Regions from separate parts of the Homo sapiens genome. Here region 1 is linked to region 2. The links are contacts of gene promoters, found by promoter capture Hi-C in blood cells and fetal thymus (Javierre and others, 2016). All regions are on one chromosome and are shown on one strand. The core of a region is centred on a gene start or on the middle of the fragment in contact, and the rest is flanking DNA. Distances in the headings are between cores, read along the strand shown. Region 1 overlaps CRYL1 (crystallin lambda 1). Region 2 holds the start of XPO4 (exportin 4).

Region 1 (3,006 bases), core at 1-2,500, 410 kb after region 2:
ATTTTGGGTTTATACCCAGAAGTTGAATTGCTGGATCATACTGTAATTCTGTTTTTGGGAACTGCCATATCTGTTTTCCATAGCGGTTGCACCATTTTACAGTCTCACCAGCAGTGCACAATGGTTCCAGTTTCTCCACATCCTTGCCAACAATTGCTAGTTTCTATTTTTGGTAGCCCCTAATGGGTGTGAGGTGGTATCTCACTGTGGTTCTGCTTGGCATTTCCCTGATGATTCCTGATGTTGGGCTTTATCTGTTTTTAAATGTGGTGTTGAATACTCACAGTGATCCTTCTCTCTGCCTTTCCAGAAAGGAGATGAAGTTGCTGGAGCAGGCAGGTTCTCTGAAAGGCTCCCTGAGTGTGGAAGAGCAGCTGTCACTCATCAGTGGTTGTCCCAATATCCAAGAAGCAGTAGAGGGTGCCATGCACATTCAGGTGAGTGAAGGACACTGGCGCCGCATCTGTGGGGCCTGAGACATTGTCTCCCAGCCTCTCCGGAGGAACAGGGCAGGATACAGAGCAGTGGCAGGTGTGGGCATTTTGCATCTTCAAGGGCAGGATTTTGTTTTATGTGATAGGAAATGTGATCCCCAAAACACCCTCTATCCTGGGTTCTCATCAAACTAGCGTGACAATGTTCTGTTTCAAGAGACCAATGCCTTATCCGTGAGGCCACTAGGGATTCTGGTGACAATGTTGTATTTTAGAGGCATTAACAGTTTTAGCAAAAATAGGTTTTCTGGACTGCTAATACTATTTTATTTTGTTTTATCATCTTATCAAATGACAGATTATATTATTGTTCTCATATGTAATTGAGCAAAAGCTTACATCATCAAAAAGAAAACCTTTCACTTGCATGTAGCCTTTCCAACAACTTTACTTTAAAAAAGAGAAATCCTCATGAGGGTTGTTTGCACAGCGGGATGAGCCTGGAGAGGTGAGTGGTCCCTGCAGGTGGAGCTGGGAGCAGCCCCTGTGGCTTGGCCCTCTTTCCAGGCATCCCGCTCCTGGAGCTCCTGTGCCCACGCACAGGCCCTGCCCTGTTGAAGAATCCTGAGGCATACCCTTGTCTTTTCAAAGGCTGCACTTACTGCTATAAGGTTTATGCAAATTTACCTAAAGCTAAAAGAGTCATTATTCCCAGTATCTTTCCTTGATATTTTGTGTTCTGAGATTTGCACATTTCACGTCGTTACTCTGTTGATATTCTAGCTGAGAATTTGGAAGCAAACCGAAAAGGCTGTGTGTGTTCTCTGGTCATTTCCTGCTCTAAGATTCGGGTCAAATACAGAAGATGGAGATTTTAGGTCTCTATGACTCTAAAATTTCTTAAAATTGTTAAATTCTCAATTTGCTAAAAATTCATTAAACAAATGTGTGTCACAACAGAACACAAGGAGAGGACTGTTTTTCAACTTCTTATCTCTTTCTAATATATTATCCTCTATCTCTTGATATGGTGAAGTTTGTATGAAGTTGAAGGGACTTTAAAGAGACCTGAGGGCTCCTAATGAGTTCCCAGTGCCACCTGTTTCTACCCGTAGTTGCAGGTGCTATAAGAGGAGTTGCTTCTGAAGAGCACAGATGTTCTCCAGGCCTGGTCTTGGCAGAGTTGCTTCTGAAGAGCACAGATGCTCTCCAGGCCTGGTCTTGGCAGAGAAGCTTCTTTCACATGAATTTAGTTTTATTTTTTATTTTTTTGAGACAGAGTCACTCTGTTGGCCCAGGCTGGAGTGCAGTGGTGTGATCTCGGCTCATTGCAGCCTCCACTTCCTGGATTCAAGCGATTCTCCTGTCTCAGCCTGTGGAGTGGCTGGGATTACAAGTGTGCACCACCACACCCAGCTAATTTTTGCAGTTTTAGTAGAGACAGGGTTTCACCATGTTAGCCAGGCTGGTCTCAAACTCCTGACCTCAAGTGATCCGCTGGCCTTGGCCTCTCGAAGTGCTGGGATTACAGGCGTGAGCCACGGTAAACTGCATGAGTTAAGTTTTTTTTGCTTTTTGTTTTTTGTTTTTTTTTGAGATAGAGTCTCGCTCTGTCACCCAGGCTGGAGTTCAGTAGTGTGATCTTGGCTCATTGCAACCTCCGCCTCCTGGGTTCAAGCGATTCTTGAGCCTCAGCCTCCCAAGTAGCTTGGATTATAGGCATAAACCACTGTTCCCAGCCGTGAGTTTAGTTTTTAAGGAAAGTATTTAGTTATATAATGTGATTGAAATATTAATAAGTGATCTATTATTATAATATTTCTACTTTCACATTTCACAGAATGCTTTTGTTCAAACTCTGGGCTGATATCTCCAACTTCAGCATGTTTGTCTTCATTACAATCACTTTTTGAGTCTCTCTGAACAGAGTTCCCAGACCATGTTACCTTTGCCTCTTGGAGATGTTTGCTATGCAGAGCTTTTTGAACCCATCTACAATGCTGGCACTGCAAATTTTATCCCCAGCCTCAAAGACTAATTCTCAAACATTTAGATGTTTTTTCCTTTTGTAATAATACACTTGTGATTCCATAGCATGGCAACTTGCTGTGCTTTTTTTTTTCTTTTAAAGAATCTTTCTATAGCTACTTTATAAATTTCCTAGCAGTAACAATTGTAAAGTCATCCCCTAGGAATAATTCATCTATCCATGTTAAATTTCTTTGTCTCCCCATCCCATTTTTTTGATAGTTTATCATATGATTTCTATAAACATCCAAAACTACCCTAACTGAATTAGTTCTGGTTAATGTGTCTCCCTCAAAGAGTATATTGTTTTTTATAAAGTGGTGAACCCTCCATAATATGAGAACATTATAATAGACTTGGGTAATAAGGCAAGTTTTTCTGTTAAAGAGTAATTTGGGGGGAATATGTGAATTTAGAAGGCATGTAAAGCACTTACATAGTACTTGGCACACAGAAAATGCTCAGGAAATGGTAATTATTTTATAATGTGGCCATTTATAACAATTTTGGTAATAAAGAATGACATGGGGCAGTATATGGCGTT
Region 2 (3,330 bases), core at 10-2,509:
TTTTTTGGTAGAGACAGGGTCTCACGATGTTGCCCAGGCTGGTCTCGAACTCCTGAGCTAAAATGAGGCCTGCCTTGGCCTCCCAAAGTGCTGGGATTACAGGCATGAGCCACAGCGCCTGGCCGACAAAGCTCATCTTACTGCATTTGAGAAGCCAGGTAGTCAAGGTCAGGCTTTCCTGTCCCTGCTTTCTCCCTCTCCTATGTGAGCCAGCCCTTAAAGAGTGAAAACGGCAAGAGCCAAAGACGGGTTTTCCTCCTAGGGTCTCCTAGCGACCCGCTGCCCAGATACATTTGGATGATTGTCCTGCAGAAGGCCAAAGCCCTCCATTATGAAAACGAAGCGTTCGGCCGGGGGCGGTGGCTCACGCCTGTAATCCCAGAACTTTGGGAGACCGAGGCGGGCGGATCACCTGAGGTCAGGAGTTCGAGACCAGCCTGGCCAACATGGTGAAACTTCGTCTCTACTAAAAGTACAAAAATTAGCCGGGCGTGGTGGCGGGCGCCTGTAATCCCAGATACTCAGGAGGCTGAGGCAGGGGAATCGCTTGAACCCGGGAGACGGAGGTTGCAGTGAGCCGAAATAGGGCCATTGCACTCCATCCTGGGCGATAGAGTGAGACCCTGTCTCCAAAAAAAAAAAAAAAGAAAGAAAGAAAACGAAGCGTTCTATCCTGGAATGTTCTCCCATGGCAAGAAGGAACAGAGAAGCAGGAGACAGAGATACTTTGAAAGGAGGTGCGCTCTGAGGAGGGGAAAGCGGGAAGAGCGATTCCAAGTTTAGGAAATCCTGCACGGCGCTGGAGCGTGGAAGGGCAAGGAGGAGCCAGGGGAGGCGGTGTGCAGGGCTGAGAACGGAGGGAGCGAACTGGCGTCGTGGATCTGCGGGTCCCCGGGCGGGCTGTACTAGGGTAGTGGGGAGAGGGCCGGGGGCACCGCGAGGCCGGGGCGCCGGACACCACGCATGCGCGGGGCTGGGAGCTTAGCGGGGCGCGCGGCTGCAGCAGTCTGGGCAGACCGCCTCGGCCTCGCCCGGTGCCGGCTGCGGCCGCCCCCGCCCCAGCGCGGCGGCCGGGCTCACACTAGTCCCCTCCCAGCCACCCGGAACCCGGCAGCCCGGCCAGACCCGCCGAGGCCGCGACGCCGGTGTCGACAGCGGCTGCGACGGCCCTGGGAGCGCGTGAGGCTCCGGGGTCGCGGCGGCGATTGGCCGGCCGCGGCGCCCGCTCCCAGAATGCAGCGCATGGCGCGTCATTGAAGAGAGACCATGATGGCGGCGGCGCTGGGGCCCCCAGAAGTGATCGCTCAGCTGGAGAACGCGGCTAAAGTTCTGATGGTGAGGACGCCGCGCCCCTCAGACCCCGGGATTCGCGGGCCCCCGGTCGGCCCTGCCACTCCAGGCCTTGCTGCTCGCTGGGCTGGCGACTGGCAAGGGCCTGCAGGGAGCCTGGAAGTGGAGGAGGAGGTGGCGGTGGCGTGGCGCAGGATTCTTCAGCCTACTTTCCTCCTGCCGTCGTCCCCTCCTTCCAGGAGCTGTCCCCTTCCCCTGGCTGCCCAGCACCCCAGTCGGGCGTGGGAATATAGTGGTGTAGCAAAGAGAATTTCTTCACCTTACACCCTGCCCCACAGACTGGGTCGCAGAGCAAGGCGCCGGGAAGGAGTTGGGGTTATCCCCGCAGGGCTTCGGTAGGGGAAATTTGTAGGGCTGTGTGAGCGCTCTTGGGGAGTTGGTGTCGGGAGGGATTGGATGGCACAGCCTGGGTGCTGTTAGCAACCCTTGTTTCCTGTGCATTCGCATCCTCTAGCGCTTCCCTGACATGCAGCCACCTCTGGAGTAATTGCAGCCGGCAGCACGTGGAAGGGCCGGGCCGGCTGGAGGGAGGGAGGGGAATCGTTGAGACCAAGGTCATTGGGGCAAAACTTGGTCTAGTGCTAAGCTCCTTAAAGCTCCCGCGATTTGGAGAACTGAGTCTATGCTACTCTTTGACTTCATGCTTACACTACAATAAGCAGTTTGATGAGATTGTTTACTAAGGGAATTTGAGAAGGCCGAGTCAAAGGATAAAAGTATTACATGCAAGGAGGAGAAGTAAGGATAAACTACGTTCAGTTAGTAAACAGTGTTTCTATTTGCTGGCTCAGCTTTGTTTTTGCAAATTATGACTTCGGTGTTTGTAGATGTTTTGGGAAGTTAGAGGTTCATTTGATACCTGGATTGATTCAGACTTTCTAAGAATTGGATACAGCCAGCTTTGTTACCTTTTTGGACTTTTTTCCTTTTGGTTTGGTGTTAGGGTGTTTGAGCATCACATTTGAGAATATTCGAACTAATTCTAGCGTAGTTTGTAGTTCTAATATTTTACACCAGATATTTTTGTTTCTTTAGAAATCGAGAAGTCTAATAAAAGCAGGATTTACTTGCTTCATTATGAATATTAACTTAATGTACGTTTTGTCACAAAACAGACTAGTGAAGGTTTTCACACTTTTGCAAATTAAGCAGAAGTAACTAGCTAGTATTCCCCTTAATAAAAGATTCTTAAAAATCCCTGACATAGAGCGTTTTGTAAAATTCCTGAAATTTTCCTAGGAGCTAGGGGCTCCGTTTTCATTGGATTCTGGAAGGAGTATGCCACCCAAAACACGGCTGTAGTTCTTACACTGATCAGGTAAAATCAGTGTCCTTCGTCACTGGCTTAATATAAACTAGTATTTGTGTTTTCCAATATCTTCCCTCTTCCCTGGCAAAGCTGCTTTTATCCCCTATAAGGAGTAGGTGAGAAGAATAGTAGTAAGTACCGTTTATTGAGTGCTAGATATTGGGCTTGATGCTTTACATACTTTACATATTTTATTAATTCTTGCAACAGCTTTGCTTTACAAGGTTGAGAAACTGTAAGTGGCCCGGGTTACACGATTACTAAATGGCTGAATTAGGTCTTGAACTCAGTTCTGTCTGGCTCTAAAGCTGTGTGTCTTTCCACTCTACCCCATCTGTCATATGTTGTATAAATAATTTGTCTAAATGCTTTTTATCTTTTCAGAGGAGAGTAGTATTGAAAAAAGTGTCATGTTATTAAAAACAGGAAATTACAGCCGGGTGCGGTGGCTCATTCCTGTAATCCCAGCACTTTGGGAGGCCGAGGTGGGCGGATCACTAAAGATTAGGAGCCCAAGACCAGGCTGGCCAACACGGTGAAGCCCCATCTCTACTAAAAATATAAAAATTAGCCGGGCGTGATGGCTGGCACCTTTAATCTCAGCTACTCTGGAGGCGAAGACAGGAGAATCGCTTGAACCAGGAGGCAGAGGTTGGAGTGAGCCGAGATCG

What was found. Contacts are between HindIII fragments. The CHiCAGO score rates a contact against its expected background, and 5 or more counts as called.
Region 1: a fragment that was not itself captured here is called in contact with the fragment with the promoter of XPO4 in region 2 in 4 of 17 cell types (erythroblasts, megakaryocytes, endothelial precursors and 1 more); the score reaches 10.5 in erythroblasts.

The regions. Positions count from the first base shown.
Region 1 is chr13:20,486,801-20,489,806 of GRCh38, reverse strand. CRYL1 (crystallin lambda 1) reads left to right here. Exons shown (of 8, transcript NM_015974.3): 3 at 311-437. Among named protein-coding and RNA genes, the nearest start is that of CRYL1, 38 kb to the left of the region's middle. The HindIII fragment of the contact is 839 bases long and covers 831-1,669 here.
Region 2 is chr13:20,900,675-20,904,004 of GRCh38, reverse strand. It overlaps XPO4 (exportin 4), which reads left to right and starts at 1,259. Exons shown (of 23, transcript NM_022459.5): 1 at 1,259-1,335. The coding sequence starts at 1,267. RefSeq lists a silencer at 857-1,236 and an enhancer at 1,447-1,496. The HindIII fragment of the contact is 36,571 bases long and covers 1-3,330 here.